Linked DNA regions of Homo sapiens: region 2 is linked to region 1. Evidence: promoter capture Hi-C in human tissues and cell types (Jung and others, 2019). All regions are on one chromosome and are shown on one strand. The core of a region is centred on a gene start or on the middle of the fragment in contact, and the rest is flanking DNA. Distances in the headings are between cores, read along the strand shown.

What was found. Contacts are between HindIII fragments. The study calls those that stand out against the background at their distance.
Region 2: a contact is called between a fragment that was not itself captured here and the fragment with the promoter of LCAT in region 1, in 2 of the 25 tissues and cell types used here (small bowel and spleen).

The regions. Positions count from the first base shown.
Region 1 is chr16:67,942,870-67,947,292 of GRCh38, reverse strand. LCAT (lecithin-cholesterol acyltransferase) reads left to right here and starts at 3,173. Exons shown (of 6, transcript NM_000229.2): 1 at 3,173-3,345; 2 at 4,081-4,237; 3 at 4,317-4,423. The coding sequence starts at 3,192. It overlaps SLC12A4 (solute carrier family 12 member 4), which reads left to right. Exons shown (of 24, transcript NM_005072.5): 17 at 188-356; 18 at 660-855; 19 at 953-1,122; 20 at 1,211-1,342; 21 at 1,422-1,529; 22 at 1,740-1,924; 23 at 2,073-2,206; 24 at 2,362-3,819. The coding sequence ends at 2,453. RefSeq lists an enhancer at 4,042-4,423. The HindIII fragment of the contact is 35,269 bases long and covers 1-4,423 here.
Region 2 is chr16:67,821,273-67,825,475 of GRCh38, reverse strand. It overlaps TSNAXIP1 (translin associated factor X interacting protein 1), which reads right to left. Exons shown (of 16, transcript NM_001288990.3): 5 at 1,757-1,850; 6 at 697-893; 7 at 204-339. Among named protein-coding and RNA genes, the nearest start is that of TSNAXIP1, 16 kb to the right of the region's middle. The HindIII fragment of the contact is 3,588 bases long and covers 1-3,574 here.

The DNA of each region.
Region 1 (4,423 bases), core at 1,924-4,423:
CTTAGGGGTCGCTGTCGGGGTCAGAGGGTCGAGAGGTGCCGGCTCCCCATCCTGGGGCTGCCCGGGGCACCCTCCTGGGCCATGCTACCCAAACCTGCAGGGACCACGACCCGAGAAGGGAAGAAGAGGAGGGGCTCCCTAGAACGGCCGGCCCTGGTCTCAGGCTCCCCCCACCCGGCCACTGCAGGCCGCAGCTGCTGGTGCTGCTGAAGCTGGACGAGGACCTCCACGTGAAGTACCCGCGGCTCCTCACCTTCGCCTCCCAGCTCAAGGCTGGCAAGGGCCTGACCATTGTTGGTTCTGTCATCCAGGGGAGCTTCTTGGAGAGCTATGGCGAGGCTCAGGCCGCCGAGCAGGTACTTGCTTTGGGGAGGGAGAGCTGAGCCAGACTACAGGGGTCTGGACTGCAGCTGGCACGGAGGGGAGGGCCCAGTCTTGGCCAGGGTGGCCAGCCAGGCAGCCAGCACTGCTGCCACCTGAGAGCTGGCACAAGGGGGAGCCAGCAGTCCCATCTTGAAAACTTGGCCTCTGGGTAGGCAGCTTGTTGCCCCCAGGCCCTCCTCCACCCAAAAGTCGTTTTGTTCCCGAGGGGCCTTGGGAGGGAGCCCAGAGGCAGGAAGCTGATGGCCTCCCATTGGCCCTGGGTGTGTTCCCCACAGACCATCAAGAACATGATGGAAATTGAGAAGGTGAAGGGCTTCTGCCAGGTGGTGGTGGCCAGCAAGGTGCGGGAGGGGCTGGCCCACCTCATCCAGTCCTGTGGCCTGGGAGGCATGCGGCATAACTCCGTGGTGCTGGGCTGGCCCTACGGCTGGCGACAGAGCGAGGACCCCCGTGCCTGGAAGACCTTCATTGGTGTGTGAAGGCCTGGGGCCTGGTGGGCAGGGGTGAAGTGAGGTGGCAGTGGGCGGAGGGCCACAGACTGGTGGTCAGCCGTGCTCCTCCTCCCCAGACACCGTGCGCTGCACTACGGCTGCCCACCTGGCCCTGCTCGTGCCCAAGAACATCGCCTTCTACCCCAGCAACCACGAGCGCTACCTGGAGGGCCACATAGACGTGTGGTGGATCGTGCACGATGGTGGCATGCTCATGCTTCTGCCCTTCCTGCTGCGCCAGCATAAGGTAGACCAGGGGGTGGGTGCAGATGAGAGGGGCTAGGCCCTTGGAGGAGCAGCTGTGACCAAACCGCCCACCTGGTCCCTTGCCTCAGGTCTGGAGGAAGTGCCGGATGCGCATCTTCACAGTGGCCCAGATGGATGACAACAGCATCCAGATGAAGAAGGACCTGGCTGTCTTTCTGTACCATCTGCGCCTTGAGGCCGAGGTGGAGGTGGTGGAGATGGTGAGCCCTCTGCCCTGCCCTGGCCCCGTGGATACCATGTCCCGTGCAGCTGGGTCCTCACGGCCAACCCTGTCCCCAGCATAACAGTGACATCTCTGCATACACCTACGAGCGGACGCTGATGATGGAGCAGCGGTCGCAGATGCTGCGGCAGATGAGACTGACCAAGACTGAGCGGGAGCGAGAAGTCAGTGCCCTTTGTGGTTCACGCCAGGGCGGGTGGCAGGGTCAGGCCTTTGGAGACCGCATCGGTGGGTGCGGAGGAATCAGAATGACTCACCGCAGCCCTACCCAAGCTAGTGCTCATTTCCCGGAGGCAAGGTGGTCACATTGGGCCAGACAGGCCCCATCCCCCTTTTCCTATGGGACCAAGGCTATCTCCTGCAATTGTCCTCAGGCCCAGCTGGTCAAGGATCGGCACTCGGCCCTGCGGCTGGAGAGCCTGTACTCGGACGAGGAAGATGAGTCTGCAGTGGGGGCTGACAAGATCCAGATGACGTGGACCAGGGACAAGTACATGACTGAGACCTGGGACCCCAGCCATGCCCCTGACAATTTCCGGGAGCTGGTGCACATTAAGCCGTGAGTGCAGCAAAAACAGCCCCAGCGGCACTGGAATCTAGGGGTGGAGGTGGGGTGGGGCAGACAAGTAGTGTTAGATGGGCCAGGGGTGGGGACCCTCCTTGCAGGATGGCTCATGGCGACCTGTGACTGGCTACACTACGTGTAGGGACCAATCCAATGTGCGGCGCATGCACACTGCTGTGAAGCTCAATGAAGTCATTGTCACGCGCTCCCACGACGCCCGCCTGGTTCTCCTAAACATGCCTGGCCCACCCAGGAACAGTGAGGGCGACGAGAACTGTATCCCTTTGTGGAGAGGCAGGCAGTTGGGAGGTGGATAGCATGGGAGGTCAAGCCAGCGGCTTCTCTCCTGGGCACCCCTGGGTGGGCATGGCCCAGGTGGCCCGGGTTGCCCGTTGATTCTGTTGTTGCCTCCTTGACTTGAGGCCCTGCAGACATGGAGTTCCTCGAGGTGCTGACCGAGGGCCTTGAGCGGGTGCTGTTGGTGCGCGGTGGTGGCCGTGAAGTCATCACCATCTACTCCTGAGCCCAGTGTCATCTTGTGGCCTGGAGTCGAGGTCTTGGCCAGGACATAACAAGCTGTGGTCTGGGGTAACAGCCTCTTCCCAGCACCCACCTGCCAGCCCTGCTTGCCTGGCCCTGTCCTGGACCCAGCTTTGCTAGGTCTCCTTGGAAACCAGGCCTGGGCCTCAAAATGGAGATGGATCCCAGGTCTTGTGGGACCCTGGGATGTTTGGGGACTTTACTATCTAGCACCCCAGTAGGCCTGTCCTGGCCAGAGAAGACTGGTAGGGGCCGAGTGGGGTTTGAAGGCAGCCGGCCCGGCCCAGCCCAGGAGCGCTATTTATTGCATATTTATTGTTTGGATGTCACCATCAGAGACGAAGGGAAGGGTAGCCAGGGAGGGAGTCCAGCCCAGCTGCCTGCAGGAAGATCTGGCTCAGTCTACTATGGGCAGGGCCCCCCACCAAGCTGAGCCGAATGGAGACAGCTGAGCTGAGGCCTGACTTTTTCAATAAAACATTGTGTAGTTCTGGGCCTCCTGCTGCCCCGGCTCTGTTTCCCCTGGCGCCAAGAGAAGAAGGCGGAACTGAACCCAGGCCCAGAGCCGGCTCCCTGAGGCTGTGCCCCTTTCCGGCAATCTCTGGCCACAACCCCCACTGGCCAGGCCGTCCCTCCCACTGGCCCTAGGGCCCCTCCCACTCCCACACCAGATAAGGACAGCCCAGTGCCGCTTTCTCTGGCAGTAGGCACCAGGGCTGGAATGGGGCCGCCCGGCTCCCCATGGCAGTGGGTGACGCTGCTGCTGGGGCTGCTGCTCCCTCCTGCCGCCCCCTTCTGGCTCCTCAATGTGCTCTTCCCCCCGCACACCACGCCCAAGGCTGAGCTCAGTAACCACACACGGCCCGTCATCCTCGGTAAGCCCCCACCAGGCCCCTGATGCACCACGCCAGACCCTGGGGAGCCTGGGCCCCAGCCCCTGGCAGCTGACCTGGCCAAAGCCCTTCTGCCCTGCATAAGCCCCGACATAAGTACCTGCCCTGGTGTGGGGAGGGGCCAAAAGCTTGTCCCTTAGAGGAATGACGTCCCTTCTCCCACCACACTGTGACTCTCAGTTGTCTAACCCAGGGGGGGCGGAGTGGGGGACGGGGTGTGCCTGAGGTCTTGGCTGGGGCATCACAAGCTGTGGTCAGTCACAGCCACACCAGACTCTGGGCCAAGCCCCACCACTCCTTCCTTGGCCCCCACCCACCAAGGACAAGATGCCCAGCCCAGGATCGGTGAGCAGGAGAGGCCCATCCATGCCCGGCCCCTATTAGGCCCAGCCCCCATGCCCCCAGACCTATCTGTTCCCACCTTGGACTTTGGCAATAAAGGAGCGCCAGACTGGGTGTTTGCTCTGCAGAGGCAGGGGTCAGCGGCCTTGGCCTCAGCACCTCAGCGCCTTCCCTTCCTCAGGGAAGCCTGGGCTTTGGCTACTGGGGGGACAGCAGGGAGAGGGGGTGTAAGCAGGGGAGGGTAAGTGTGCTTTGTACCTGGGGGTTGAGGGTATGGGAGGTGGGGGGTGGGTCTGGTCACTGCAGCATCTGGGGTGACGGGGGTAAGGGTCACGGGGGGAATCCAGAGTCCAGAGTGAGGGCTGCTGCTCACAGTGCCCGGCTGCCTGGGGAATCAGCTAGAAGCCAAGCTGGACAAACCAGATGTGGTGAACTGGATGTGCTACCGCAAGACAGAGGACTTCTTCACCATCTGGCTGGATCTCAACATGTTCCTACCCCTTGGGGTAGACTGCTGGATCGATAACACCAGGTACAGCCATGTGCTCCACCCTAGCCCCAACACGCTGCCCCTTGGCTACTGGCTGCTGAGTGGCACCCCCGCCCCGCAGGGTTGTCTACAACCGGAGCTCTGGGCTCGTGTCCAACGCCCCTGGTGTCCAGATCCGCGTCCCTGGCTTTGGCAAGACCTACTCTGTGGAGTACCTGGACAGCAGCA
Region 2 (4,203 bases), core at 531-3,030, 120 kb after region 1:
GCCTCAGCTACCAACTGTGTTCCTACAATTCTCAGTTCAACTCAGAAGATACACAGCCCTGCGGGAGGCAGGGACATCTCCCCTCTGAATGGTTATGGAATGAGCAGGTCTTAGGAATGCTGAATGAATGGGGCTTAGGGGTGAGACCAGAGTCTTCCAGCGTCTCAGAGAAGAGAGAAACCCGATTCCCAATTCAGGCTTACCTGGCGACTGGGCTAATGACATGTCCTCCCGCTGGTACCGCAGCTCATTCAGGTCTGCGATGAGGATCTTACAGGCATCTCGCTCACTGAGGTAGTGCAGGTACTCCTCAGCCAAGTTCTTCCTCAGTTTGGTCACCTGGCAAGAAGGTGGCTGTGTGGTCAGGGGCTGCCCCTGGACCCCTGTATGCAGCTGGTCACCCCAGGGAGTGGGCTGGGTTCTGGGGGGCCCCATCAGGGACTGTGAACAGGAAAGGTGAAAGAAGAAGGAGATTGGCCATTTCTGAGAATTCGGCAAGGTGCCAATGTTTCCCCCTGTGGGGAAAGTACTGAGCCTAGCAGCAGGGCAGAGGGTGGAGTTAGCAAGGCTCTGGGGGAAGGTGGTGGCTCAGTGTGTCACTCTCCGTAGAAAGGCAGAGCAGGGTAGGGGGTCACCCTTGTCGTGGAGTTGGCAGGAATTCGGGGACTTGGTCATCATCACACCACTTCCATTCACCTCGCTCTGCAATGAAATCTTCTCCTCATTCTTTTTGTCGATGAGTTTTAGCAAGTTCATCTTCTCTTTCTTGAGCAGGGAGATTTCATATTTCTCCTCAGCTCTCATGGCCAGGATCCTCTCATTGCAGTCCTCATTCACAGTGACAAGCTTGGCCTTCAGGGGCTCCAGAGCCCGAATCTTCTCCCTTTGGTGGGCTAAGCAGAGACAGGTGGGAGAGCTGCTTTGGGGCCATGGAGAACAAACAGCCAGAAGACACCCTAAGGTCATGGGTGAGTGGCTATGTCGCTTGCAAACCCCAAGAATCTCTGCATGCCTTGTTCAAAGCCATGGTCCCTGTTTCAGGCCTTCCTGCACTTGATTTTAAACAAAGGGCAGAGTTCAGATGAAGACCGGGGTCTCTCCTATGTCCTTTCCCCTACAGCCTTAAGTCCTGCAGCTGCACCATGCCCTGCACCTCCTGAGCCTGGCAGGGGAGCCTGCTGACTCCCAGAGGTGCTGACTCTCTCCTGGGGTTCACTCCATTTTCAACAGGGACTGCCCCCCTGTGCTTCTCAATGACAGGTGTTGTCAGGTGCTCTGGGGTGCCCTATCATGGAACAGTCTGTGCAGAATGGCTGAGGGGCCTTGGTGACCTCAAGGCCCAGTTGGTAGCTGCCCCAGCCCTGCTGTGGAGCACCAGAAGGTCGAATAGGATCTTCTCCACCCCTTCCAGGCTGGGACAAGGAGGGGAGCTGCATTCTTTTTTTTTTTTTTTTTTTGCGATGGAGTCTTGTTCTTTTGCCCAGGCTGGAGTGCGGTGGTGTGATCTCAACTCACTGCAACCTCCACCTCCTAGGTTCAAGCAATTCTCCTGCCTCAGTCTCCCAAGTAGCTGGGATTACAGGTGTGTGCCACCATGCGCAGCTAATTTTTTTGTGTTTTTACTAGAGACAGGGTTTCACCATGTTGGCCAGGCTGGTCTCAAACTCCTGACCTCAAGTGATCTACCGCCTCGGCCTCCTAAAGTGCTGGGATTACAGGCGTGAGCCACTACGCCTGGCAGGAGGTGCATTCTTACCCAGCATCCCCTCATACGCATTCTTGATGGAGGATAGTAATGGCTTGTACGTTTTGAAGTCCTCTATGAAGAACTCAAAGATCTCTCTGTAAGGCTGGCAAGAAAAGGGAACCCATCATCTCCTAGCCCACAGCTGCCAACCTTAGTGGGGAACTGTTTTTCTTTTTCTTTTTTCCTGAGACGGAGTGTCGCTCCATCACCCAGGCTGGAGTGCTGTGGTGCAATCTCAGCTCACTGCAACCTCTGCCTCCCAGGTTCAAGTGATTCTCCTGCCTCAGCCTCCTGAGTAGCTGGGATTACAGGCACGCGCCACCACACCTGGCTAATTTTTGTATTTTTAGTAGAGATGAGGTTTCACCATGTTGGCCTGGATGGTCTCGATCTCCTGACCTCGTGATCCACCCACCTCGGCCTCCCAGAGTGCTGGGATTACAGGTGTGAGCCACTGTGCCTGGCACTGTTTTTTTCTTTACTGGGCTTAGCAGTATTCCAGCATGAGGCTGCCAGGTCACTTATATTCAAGTAAATGCCCTAGATACCACCCGGGTACCTCACAGTGCCACGGAGCCTGGGGGGCAGCTCTCTGGAGGCCTGTCCTGATGCTGTCTCTGAGGCCTAGTGGACTGCCATGACCATAGACAGACATCCACTCTGTGCCTGAGCCCCTCTCTGGCTCTCCAGGCAGCCAGCCTCTTGCCTTCTAGACACTGCATCATTGGCCTCTCACTTGTAACCTCTCCCCATCTTAGAGCCTGGTAGATTCAGGAGATTGAAGGTTGTACCCTTGCATCCTGACATGCAAGTAGGGGTGTGGTCTTCTGTCCCATTTGGACACATGGGAGGTTTCTGGAGGCAGCATTGCTCACTGAAATGAGCACAGTCTCCAGAGTCAGCCCTGAGTTTGAAGCCCAGCCCCACTACGCCATAGTGGTATGCTTTCTTCCTTATCTGTTCAGGAGATCGATGTAAGGCCCCAGCCCAGGGCCTTGCACTTGCACATAGCCAGTGCTCAGTAAATGCTTTAGTCAATGACTAAGTCAAAAGGCAGGGATTCTCTGTCATCATCCTTGTTTAAGCAGATTTGGTGATTCTCTCCCTACTATACACTGGTATCTGGGTTGGATCTGATCTCTCTCTCTCTCTCTCTCTCTCTTCCTCCCTCCCTCCTTATGCATCTGTGCTGGTTCCTTAAGCTTGGGGTTGTTGCCACTGGACTGGTAAACACGGTGTGACCCCTGCTTGCCCAACTGCCAGCATTCAGGCTACGTTCACTGATGTCCAGTGGCCCAACCTGGGTACTGGGGATCACAGAGCTGCAGGGACTGGGCACAGCATCCAGGCCACCTGACTCAGGTGAGGAAACTCCAGCCTCAGGAGACTTTTGGATCCACATTGCAGCCTTGCCTGCTCACTGGCGTTTTCTTTTTTTTTTTTTTTTTTTGAGATGGAGTCTCACTCTGTTGCCCAGGCTGGAGTGCAGTGGCGTGAACTTGGCTCACTGCAAGCTCCGCCTCCCAGGTTCATGCCATTCTCCTGCCTCAGCCTCCCGAGCAGCTGGGACTACAGGTGCCTGCCACCACACCTGGCTAATTTTTTTGTATTTTTAGTAGAGACGGGGTTTCACCATGTTAGCCAGGATGGTCTCGATCTCCTGACCTGGTGATCCGCCTGCCTCGGCCTCCCAAACTGCTGGGATTACAGGTGTGAGCCACCGTGCCTGGCCTTCTTTTTTCTGTTGACAGAGTCTCACTCTGTTGCCCAGGCTGTAGTGCAGTGGCATGATCTCGGCTCACTGCAACCTCTGCCGCCTGGGTTCAAGCAATTCTCCTGCCTCAGCCTCCTGAGTAGCTGGGACTACAGGTGTGTACCACCACTGCAGGTTTTGTATTTTTAGTAGAGGCAGGGTTTCACCATGTTGACCAGGCTGGTCTTGAACTCCTGACCTCAAGCGATCCTCCTGCCTCAGCCTCCCGAAGTGCTGGGATTACAGGCATGAGCCACTGTGCCCGGCCTCACTGGCATTTTCATGGGATGTTTCATGCTTCTGTTCAGGGAAGGAGACCCAGGAGAGCTGGGAGAGGTGGGTCTCCCCTGAAGGTCTGAGGTGCTCAGTCCTTGTAGGTGAGGCTTTTTTTTGTTTTTGAGACGGAGTCTCACTCTTGTCGCCCAGGTTGGAGTGCAGTGGTGTGATCTTGTCTCACTGCAACCGCTGCCTCCCGGGTTCAGGGTTCAAGCGATTCTCCTGCCTCAGCCTCCTGAGTAGCTGGGACTACAGGTGCCCACTACCATGCCTGGCTAATTTTTGTACTTTTAGTAGAGACGGGGTTTCGCCATGTTGGCCAGGCTGGTCTTGAACTCCTGACCTCAGGTGGTCCACCCGCCTTGGCCTCCCAAAGTGCTGAGATTACAGGCGTGAGCCACTGTGCCCGGCCGGTAGGTGAAGCTTC